3 separate regions of the Homo sapiens genome follow, and regions 2 and 3 are each linked to region 1. The links are contacts of gene promoters, found by promoter capture Hi-C in blood cells and fetal thymus (Javierre and others, 2016). All regions are on one chromosome and are shown on one strand. Each heading gives the region's core, a stretch centred on a gene start or on the middle of the fragment in contact. The rest is flanking DNA. Distances are from core to core; before and after follow the strand shown.

Region 1 (3,129 bases), core at 161-2,660:
CAGAAGGAACAGCACTCTTGGGAGAGGGAACAGTAGAAGCAGAGATGGGGGGACAGAAAGAAGGGAGGTGAGGCCCCTGTGGGGTGTGGAGTGTCAGGTTGGGCAAGAAGGACAGGGCTTTGATTGTGATTCCATTAGTCAGAAGCTACCCATATGCCCAATCAACTTCTGGTAGCACACAGTCAGGTCAGTGTTTGCTGAGCTGAAATTTAAAAAAGTGAATCCTTCAGAAAGTTAAATTTCCTATTCGGCCATTCATTCAACAATAGTATCAAGTCCTGGAGAGTGCTTGCGGCTAACAATCAGGGGCATTCTTGGCTTGTGGCACTGCTCAAGAAAAGGTTGTAGTTGGGCAGGGAGGACCCAGTAAGTAACTAACTGCAACAGGACAGTCATTTTCACTTTCCTAGTTCACACACCAAGGTGTGGTCTAGGCCTTCAGGGGCTCTGGGTATTCCTGGGGCAATGGGGAGTCACGGAGGGTTAGGGAGAGGGTAACCCCATCCCTGAGAAGCACATTTTTCCTAATGGCTGCCTGCGTTCTATGGTTCTGCTGTCCGGCCACCCAATACCTCAGACTCTGTCTACACAGCGTCCTCCTCTCCAGCCTCCTTATTGGCTACTCATGCCTCCCTTCACACCACCTACACTGCCCCCGTCGGCTCTGCTTTTTTCCCCATCTTGCCTCCAAGTCCTCCCTCCGTCCCGCTGCACTATCTAGCCTCGGCATTGGCTCATCCCATACTAGTACTGTCCTTTGAGGTCTCTACGCCTTCACCCTGGCTCCCTCATTGGCTATCCGCCAGCTCTCGTCCTCGCTCCCGCCTTCAGCCTCCACCTCCATTGGCTCGGCTCCCTACACACCCGCCTCTTGGTCTCCTTTTAGCCTTCGTATTGGCTAGCTCCACCTTGGCACCACCCCTTCGAAGCCGCAGTGCACGCTCACAAGCCTCCCCATTGGCTCGCTGCAGCCATTGTCGTCATCCCACGCGTGGCTCTCCATTGGCTGTTCTCTCTCTCTAGCTACCGTTCCACCGCCTACGCAACCCGCGGGATCTCCCACTTTTTGGGCCTCTGCGTTCGTTCCCGGCTGCCCTCATCGCCTGTAGCCATTCCACTTTTCCCACCGCCCACATGCCTCTCTCGCTCAGACTTCCGCATTAGCTGTCTGCTTCTGTTTTCTTCATCATGGATTTCGCACCACCCCCATTCCGGCCTCTCCATTGATTCCTCGATCATCCCGCCCCCTACACCGCCCACTCCCGGGCATCCCCATTGGCTGCGTGCTTCTCCGGCTCTCAATTCGCTGTACGTCATCCGTGCATGGCTGCCCATTGGCCCTCTGCAATACTTGTCTTCATCTCACCGCCTATGCCCCCGTGAGCCGTACCCCTCCGCGCTGGCCTTCCCATTGGCTGCCCGCCCCTTCAGGCCCTGCCCCCGCCGGTCCCGCCGCCGGTGCCGTCGGTGCCGCCGCCGCCGCCGATATGGCGCGTACGGCCCCTGTGGAGCCCCCGCTGCGGCATTCCGCGCCCCCCTCGCCGGCCGCGGGTGAGCCCCGCACCTCGGTCGAGGCGGCGGTGGCCCCGCGGAGGGTGCTGTTCGCCGACGAGGCCTTGGGGCTGCCGCTGGCGCAGTTGCGCCGCTACCGGCCGTGGGGCGGGCCCGGGGCGGGCAAGATGGCGGCGGCGGCCGGGCAAGATGGCGGCGGCGGCGGCGGGGCCGACGAGGACGACGATGGCGAGGATGGGGATGAAGGGGAGGAGGAAGAGGAGGCTTGCCCCGAGCCCTCACCGCTGTGCCCCGTCCCCGCTGGCGGGGGGTTTTACCTGGTCCCCACATTTTCGCTGCCGCCCGCGCCGGGCCGTCTGGAGCGCTTGGGGCGCGTCATGGTGGAGCTGGAGGCGCTGCTGCCGCCTCCCGGAGCGGTCCCCGGGGGTGCCGGGGTGTGGGTGCCTGGGGGCCGCCCGCCGGTGCTGCGCGGGTTGGTACGCGTGCTGAACCGCTCCTTCGAGAAGGCGGTGCACGTGCGGGCCTCACACGACGGCTGGGCTTCCTTTTGCGACCACCCAGCGCGCTACGTCCCGCGCAGCCCGCCGTGGGCAGGAGCGGGAGGAACAGGAGCAGGAGATCCCATCCTGGATCCGGGGCTCGGCCTGGGTCCCGGCCAGGCATCCGCCTCCTCGCCCGACGACGGCGGCCGCACCGACCGCTTTGCCTTCCAGCTGCCCTTTGCTGAGGGCGCGGGCGATGGGGCGCGCCTCGACTTCGTGGTGCGCTATGAGACCCCTGAGGGCACTTTCTGGGCCAACAACCACGGCCGCAACTACACAGTCCTGCTCCGGATCGCACCCGCTCCCACACCCACTGATGCCGAAGGGCTGCCCCAGCAGCAGCAGCTGCCGCAGCTGGAGCCACAGCCCGAGTGCCAGGGTCCCGTGGAGGCTGAGGCCAGGCAGCTGAAGAGCTGCATGAAGCCGGTGAGGCGCAGGTAATGTCAGCCAGCGCCACCTCCGCCAACGCAGGGCTGTGTCTGGGATGGAGGACAAGCATTCCGGCCCAGGAACCCCTCAGGCCTGCTCTCCAGGACAGGGAGGAGGGTGCATTGAGTCAGTCAGTCAAAGAGTGATGGAGGTCAAACACGTGCTAGGCACTGTTTTAACTGGGGTTTTATTCCTCCATTTATTGAGTTCCACTGTAAAGCCCTGAACAAGACAGACATCTACCCTACCCTCAAGGATTCATACAGGCTCCTATGGGAGACAGTTTGAAAAAACAAGCAAGCAAGCAGATAGGATAAATAGGGACAAAGTTAGCTGCTGAAGGGAGTAAGGGGATAGATTGGGAGGGAATGACTGTGTCAGACATGCTGTTAAAGGGAGGGCCTTTGAGGAGGTGAGTCCCGAATGATGATAAAGAAGAGTTATGCAGATACGGTGGGGAGGTGGGGGAGAGTTTGTAGGAAAAGGAACAGGGAGGACTTTTCTGAGGAGGTTTCATTTAAACTAAGTCCTGGATGATGAATAACAGTTATGTGCATATATGGAACAAGGGTGTTCTAGGTAGAGGAAACAGCAAGTGCAAAGGTCCTGGGGTGGAAATGAGCTTGGTGTGAATGATCAGCAGTGT
Region 2 (3,514 bases), core at 395-2,894, 370 kb before region 1:
CCTGGGCAACAGGGCAAGATGCTGTCTCAAAAAAAAAAAAAAAAAAAAAAACATGGCCAGGCACAGTGGCACACGCCTGTAATCCCAGCACTTTGGGAGGCCGAGGTAGGTGGATCACCTGAGGTCCAGAGTTCAAGGCCAGCCTGGCCAACATAGTGAAACCCCATTTCTACTAAAATTACAAAAATTCGTCAGGTCTGGTGGCACATGCCTGTAGTCCCAGCTACTTGGGAGGCTGAGACAGGAGAATTGCCTGAACCCAGGAGGCAGAGGTTGCAGTGAGCCAAGAGCGTGCCACTGCACTCTAGCCTGGGCAACAGAGCAAGACTGTCTCAAAAAAAAAAAAAACTGTCTGGCTTTGCACATACATTTAAAATTTGGTGATGACTCTTTGAACGACACAGCATTTCCACAGAGGAGCTCCAGTTGGGTGGGGTGGAGGGTGGAAGACAGAGGCCATGTTTGCAATCCCTACAAAATCCCAGATACAGGAGCCAGGCTCGGCACATAGTAGGTGAGTGGGCACCAGAATGAATAAGTGCACGTGACTGGCAGCTCCAAGCAGTTTTCAGAGCAGCCTCCCTTGTGGGCAAGATAGCTAACCCCACACCAACCCAGGGAAGGCCTGGACTCACAACAGGGGCATTGCGGAAACCCTTGATGGCCTGGAAGACTCCGCCACCGATGACACCCATAGTGAAGGCTCCACCGCAATCATCCACAATTCGCCATGGGCTGCAAGCAGGAAGGGAAGGACGGGGTTAATGTGAGCCCTCCCCCAGGTCCTGTCACACGAACTCTTTTCTAACTGGGAGAAACCAAGTCACCAGAATGGGAAGTTCCTAAGTAGGAACAAACACTTCAGATAATAATGAGCTAGTTCTGTCACGCTTTTTCCACACACCCCCCCATTAAAGCGAGAAATGGGGCAAAGGGGGAGAAATATTAGTCTTCGCCCTGTCTACCAACCAAGGAATCAGCCAACGGTTTTACTGTGATCAAAGATTAAATGAATTGGCACACGCAGAGTTGACGTTTCAATAAGCGACATAGGCGTGTTAACTAGCCAAGACAGACTGTCAGCAAAGCAGGACCGCGTCGCACCCCTTCTCCGACGGTGAGCCCGTCCAACCATGCCCCGCCCCTTTTCAATCCGGCACAACTGGGAAAAACCAAGAGCGACCGCGGGAAGCATCCACCGTCCCCGCCGGCCCTCAACAGGTTCATCCGTGCCCCGCCCCCCACTGACAAAGGCGACCTGGGAAAAACCACTGGCGGCAACTCTGGGGATTTCCGGTCAACACCGTACCACCCCTAGCCGGGATGGATCGTCCAGCGTGTCTTTTTTCGTTAACAGGGCTAGGAGATTACGAAGTCAGGAGAAACATGGCGTGGTTCGGCCTTCGCCGCACCTTCTCTGGTTGTGGCCCCTCATAACGGAGCCCGAATGACAGGAACCGAGTGGGGGTAGCGGGAGATACGTTAAGAGTCCCCCGAGTCTGGTACATGGCTCTGTGCGGCCGATGCCTCCCCCGCCCGACCCCCACGGCTGGCCTTGGCGTCGCAGCAATATTCCGGATGCCTGTGCCCATTGCCGTACCAGGGCTCCCGAGCGTACTCCTCCATGGCGCTGGCGTCTGGCCGCGCAGTCAGGCCACGCCCCCAGCGTAGACGCACACCGGCGTCGGAGCTTTCCGCCTATTACCGGGCAGCGATTGGGTCGCTATACCGCATGTCACGCCAAGGACGCACTCTCATTGGCCAATCGAGTTTCTGCCATTTGTTCATTGCCTCCTGAGCGTAGTCCAGTTACTTTCAGGCTCGGGGAGTGAAGGCCTCGTTGAGAGAAGGTCTCATTCGGTGTTTTGGGAAGAGAGTCGTGTGGGCCCAGGTATCGTAGCGGCGACACGAGAGAGACGGGCGGTGTGACAGCCTTCCACTACCTGCACGAGTGTATTGGTAACGTTGGGGTGGGTGCACTCTTTTGGAGCTGGAGGAAGTGCTGCCCTCTGCTCCCCCATCCCAGCGCTTTGGTTTCTCCCACCCGGCAGTCATGGGGACGCTGGATGAGCCCATTTCTGAAGTGCGGAGGGGCCGGGCTTCTTAGGCTGTGGGCGGAGCCTGGGCCTGGGAGAGGAACAGGGCCCTGGAGCACCTGGTTTCGGGGACAGTAGGGTTGGTGGGAGTTGCGATGATATTGCCACCTACCTCTTACATCTTTTAGTGCGTATGTTCTGTCCACCCAGCTACTGGTTCATTTGAGTAGATCGGAGTCAGATGAGTACATGTTTACGGGAGGCGCTTGGTTACGGGATCCAGATAGGAATCTTTATCTGAGCTGCTTGTCAGTTTGTTCGTCTGTCCCTAGGTCTGTCTGCTATCAGCTATGCCGCTGCCCGTTGCGCTGCAGACCCGCTTGGCCAAGAGAGGCATCCTCAAACATCTGGAGCCTGGTGAGACAGCTAAAAGCAGATGGTCCTAACACGTGCCAGCCTCGACAGGCACTTTTGTTGTTGATACTGACGCTTGATACCTAGCATGGGCCAACTGTGCACCAAGCAATGGGGTGGCAGGCATTTTTCGTTGTTAACAATGTGGATTCCTGACATCCATCCCTACCGCGTGTCAAGTGGAGGGGGTTGGGGGAATAGATATTTCATTCTTTTTTTTTTTTTTTTTTTTTTTTTTTTTTTTTTTTTTTGAGGCAGAGTCTTATTGTGCACCCAGGCTGGAGTGCAGTGGCGCGATCTCGGCTCACTAAAACCTCCGCCTTCCAGGTTCAAGCGATTCTCCTGCCTTAACTTCCCGAGTAGTTGGGACTACAGGCACGCCCCGCCCCACCACACCTGGCAATTTTTTTTTTTTTTTTTTTGAGACAGAGTCTCGGTCTGTCGCCCAGGCTGGAGTGCTGTGGCGTGATCTCGTCTCACTGCAACCTCCGCCTCCCGGGCTCAAGCGATTTTCCTGTCTCAGCCTCCCAAGTAGCTGGGATTACAGGCACGTGATACCACACCCGGCTGATTTTTGCATTTTTAGTAGAGACGGGTTTCACCATGTTGGCTAGGCTGGCCTCTAACTCCTGACCTCAGGTGATCCACCCCCCACCCTTGGCTTTCCAAAGGGTTGGGATTACAGGCATAAGCCACTGTGCCCGGCAGATATTTCATTCTTAACAATACTGACTGGCTGGGCGTGGCGGCTCAAGCTGGCATTCCCAGCACTTTAGGAGGCTGAGGCGGGTAGATTGCTTGAGTTTAGGGATTAAGAGATTAGCCTGAGCAACATGGCAAAACCCCGTCTTTACAAAAAATACAAAAATTAATCGTGTGTTGTGGTGCATGCCTGTAGTCCCAGCTACTTGGGAGGCTGAGGTGAGAGGATCTCTTGAGCCTAGGATGTCAAGGGTGCAGTGAGCCGAGATTGTGCCACTGCACTCCAGCCTGGCCGACACATGGAGACCCTGTCTGAAAAAAATCCAAAAAAAACAACAAAATAATACTGACCACCTAATGCC
Region 3 (3,142 bases), core at 110-2,609, 490 kb after region 1:
TCCTAGAGAGCAGAGATAACAACAAGCCTATAAGGCAAGGTAGTATTGTTTTATTTAGTGCCTGCCTATTACCAAAAGAGTTTGAAGCAGTTTATACTAAAAACATAAGAAGAATAATCTTAGAAACCCAGGAAGAAAATTTGGGCAGAGAAGTCTCTGGGAAGCATCCCAAAACTAATGGCTACTGAAAATAAACCTCTCTAAACCCTTCTCTGTCTTTCTCTCTCCTTTCTTTTTCTTTCTCCTTCCCTTCTTGATTTGTATTGTGTTTTCTCAATTAATTATTTTCTCTTTCCTATCCCTTCTTTTTTTCCTATTTGGTTTCAGACGAATTGAGCCAGGTTTCTGAAACCTGAAGCCAAAAGCACCTGTATTAGTCTGTTCCCACACTGCTATAAAGAACTACCTGAGACTGGGTAATTTATGAAGAAAAGAGGTTTAATGAACTCACAGTTCCACAGGCTGGACAGGAAGCATGGCTGGGAAGGCCTCAGGAAGCTTACAATCATGGCAGAAGTTGAAGGAGAAGCAAGCACCTTCTTCACATGGCAGAGCAGGAGGAACAGAGAGCGAAGGGGGAAGCACTACACGCTTTTAAACCATCAGATCTCATGAGAACTCACTATCAAGAGAACAGCAAGGGGGAAATCCGCCCCCATGATCTAATCACCTCCCACCAGGTCCCTCCCCAATACTGGGAATTACAATTCAACTTGAGATTTGGGTGGGGACACAGAGCCAAATCATATCAGCATTCTAATGGATACATCAATCGATTTTCATGGCATGACATTAGGTATGAACTATTATCACCCCCATTTTACAGATGAAGAAACTGAGGCACAGAGGGGTTGAAGATGAAGACTTGCCTAAAATCAAATGGTAAATGGTGGAGTGAGGATTTTGATGAAGATAGTCTGAAGCCAGTAGCTACATCATTAATTATTATAATATATACTGCCAAGTATGAAATCAGATTTTAAACCAGGTCTGTTTAACTCAAACCCCATTGATCTTGACTATTAAACTATGCTCCCTGTGATGAAAATGATGATGACCATGACAATGACAATAACAGTAATAATTATAACTGACATTTATTGAGCTTTTATAGTGTGTCAGCATTAGTCTAAATATTTTTTAAAAATCAACTCATTTTCACAAAAACCCTATGAGTCAGGTACTACTATTATCCACATTTTAGAAATATTTATTTCTATTCATATTCACAAACAAGTATAGGTCATTTAAAAATTCTAGTTAAGACGTAATTCACATACCATAAAACTTACCTTGTTAATCATTTTAATTATTATTTGATTAAGAAATAATACACATCGCCATAAAATTTACAACTGTATACTTTGTACAATTCAGTGATTTTTGTATGTCCACTATGTTGCACAGCCATCACCACTGTCTAATTTTAGAACATTTTCATCACCCCTAAAAGAAACTCTGTATCCATTAGCAGTCACCCTCCACTCAGCCCTTGGCAACCACTAATCTACTTTCTGTCTCTATGGATTTATCTGTTCTGGACATTTCATATAAATGAAATCATACAATATGTGACCTTTTGTGTCCAGCTTTTTTCACACAGAACAGAGAAAAACAGCTACCATTTATTGGTTGCCATGACTACTATGTCCTACGCACTGTTATTGAGAGCTTTGTGTGCCTTATCTTTAATCCTCACAATAACCCTGTGGCAGAGTAGCACTATCATCTTCATGTTAATGAGGAGACCGAGGCACAGAGCTGTTCAGTAACTTGCATAAAGCGCAGCAGCGCATACATGGAAGAGTTAAAACGCAAATCCAGGTCTGTCTGTATCCAAATCCCATACCCTTTACATTCCATCTTTCTGCCTTAGCGTCACATGGATGTGGGCCAGTAATGTGGTGGCATTGCAGCCAGGGCAAAGGAGTTGAGCCAACCACGTGGTGCTGAGAAGCATAGCCCTAAGATCTCCTGGACCTGGTGTCTTTTAGTGGGGTGGGGGCTGGGGATGCCCTATCTCAAGCCTGTGCTCCTGACCCCAGTAAATTTGCCTGCTGAGGTCCTGCTTGCTTACTTCTTCCTGCAGCTTCTTGGCGGCCCCAGCTGCAGTCTTTGGTTTTACTCAATTTGGATGTGTAGGTTACAGAGTTTGTATGGTAGAGTGTCTGTATTTCTTCATCTGGCTTTGGTTACACGTGGAAACATGACAAAGCAAGTCAAGCTTTCTATGAAGAGAAGGACAAAAATTCACTGAACTTATTCAAGTATTCCCCTGAAGTCTGCAGCTCAGGCACATTTCCATCTGGAGCCCATTGAATAGCACCAGCTCCCCTTCTCTGGATGGGCATCTGAGGATGAACTTCTGGTCTTAAGTGATCCTCCACCTCAGCCTCCCAAAGTGCTGGGATTGCAGGTGTGAGACATTGCACTTGGCCCAAAAGCAGATGTTTATACTAATAGGTATGGACAATGAAGAATTAAGTGGTGATTTCCATGCTCTTTATAAGATGGCAGAGAAATGAATACTACTTTTCTAAAAATAGTGCCTGCCAAAAGAGTTTGTTTCAATAATTTGGAAAATGCAGGTCCAAATGGCTCATTCTTTCAGATTGCTGAACTGATTTGCTGTTATTGCGGCTAGAGGCCTCTAAGAGTCACTGTTGAGCTCTCAGAGGAATGTAGAAGCTGACAGGAAAGAGAGGGTCTAGAAGGAAACCTTATCTTATATAACCAGAAAATATTTATCAAATGTGACGCATTAATCTTGATACAATATTATTAACCAAACTATAAAAGTTATTCAGATTTCATCAGTTTTTCCAGGATCCATTCAGGATTCCCCATGGTATTTATCATCTTAGTCACATCATGTCTCCAGTCTGTGACAGCTCCTCGGTCTTTTCTTGTTTTCCATGACCTTGACATTTTAGTGGTCAGGTGTTTTGTAGGCAGTCCCTCAATTTGAGTTTGTATAGTGGTCTGTCATGATTAGAATGAAATAGAAATTTCTCATAAGACTGAAATAGGTTTAAGTTAGTGGAGCCCTCTTGGGGCTAAATTTAAGAAAGGGAGAAGTTAATTTTCTTTGCCCTGCTGCACCTCCTGCATCTTGCCCTCCATTCCCATCTCCAGTTCACTT

What was found. The method cuts DNA at HindIII sites, captures the fragments that hold promoters and counts their contacts. A CHiCAGO score of 5 or more calls a contact.
Region 2: a contact is called between the fragment with the promoter of TIMM17B here and the fragment with the promoter of PPP1R3F in region 1, in 1 of 17 cell types (neutrophils). The highest score is 7.0, in neutrophils.
Region 3: a contact is called between a fragment that was not itself captured here and the fragment with the promoter of PPP1R3F in region 1, in 2 of 17 cell types (non-activated CD4 T cells and total CD4 T cells). The highest score is 5.7, in non-activated CD4 T cells.

What each region holds. Positions count from the first base shown.
Region 1 is chrX:49,268,383-49,271,511 of GRCh38, forward strand. It overlaps PPP1R3F (protein phosphatase 1 regulatory subunit 3F), which reads left to right and starts at 1,411. Exons shown (of 4, transcript NM_033215.5): 1 at 1,411-2,491. The coding sequence starts at 1,488. RefSeq lists enhancers at 500-999, 697-746 and a silencer at 1,447-1,686. The HindIII fragment of the contact is 7,823 bases long and covers 1-3,129 here.
Region 2 is chrX:48,896,124-48,899,637 of GRCh38, forward strand. TIMM17B (translocase of inner mitochondrial membrane 17B) reads right to left here and starts at 1,645. Exons shown (of 6, transcript NM_001395498.1): 1 at 1,601-1,645; 2 at 636-735. The coding sequence starts at 1,626. PQBP1 (polyglutamine binding protein 1) reads left to right here and starts at 1,807. Exons shown (of 7, transcript NM_001032382.2): 1 at 1,807-1,959; 2 at 2,369-2,453. The coding sequence starts at 2,387. RefSeq lists enhancers at 1,161-1,310, 1,341-1,540, 1,831-2,200, 2,251-2,470. The HindIII fragment of the contact is 9,862 bases long and covers 1-3,514 here.
Region 3 is chrX:49,759,023-49,762,164 of GRCh38, forward strand. No RefSeq gene overlaps it. Among named protein-coding and RNA genes, the nearest start is that of PAGE1, 65 kb to the left of the region's middle. The HindIII fragment of the contact is 1,726 bases long and covers 497-2,222 here.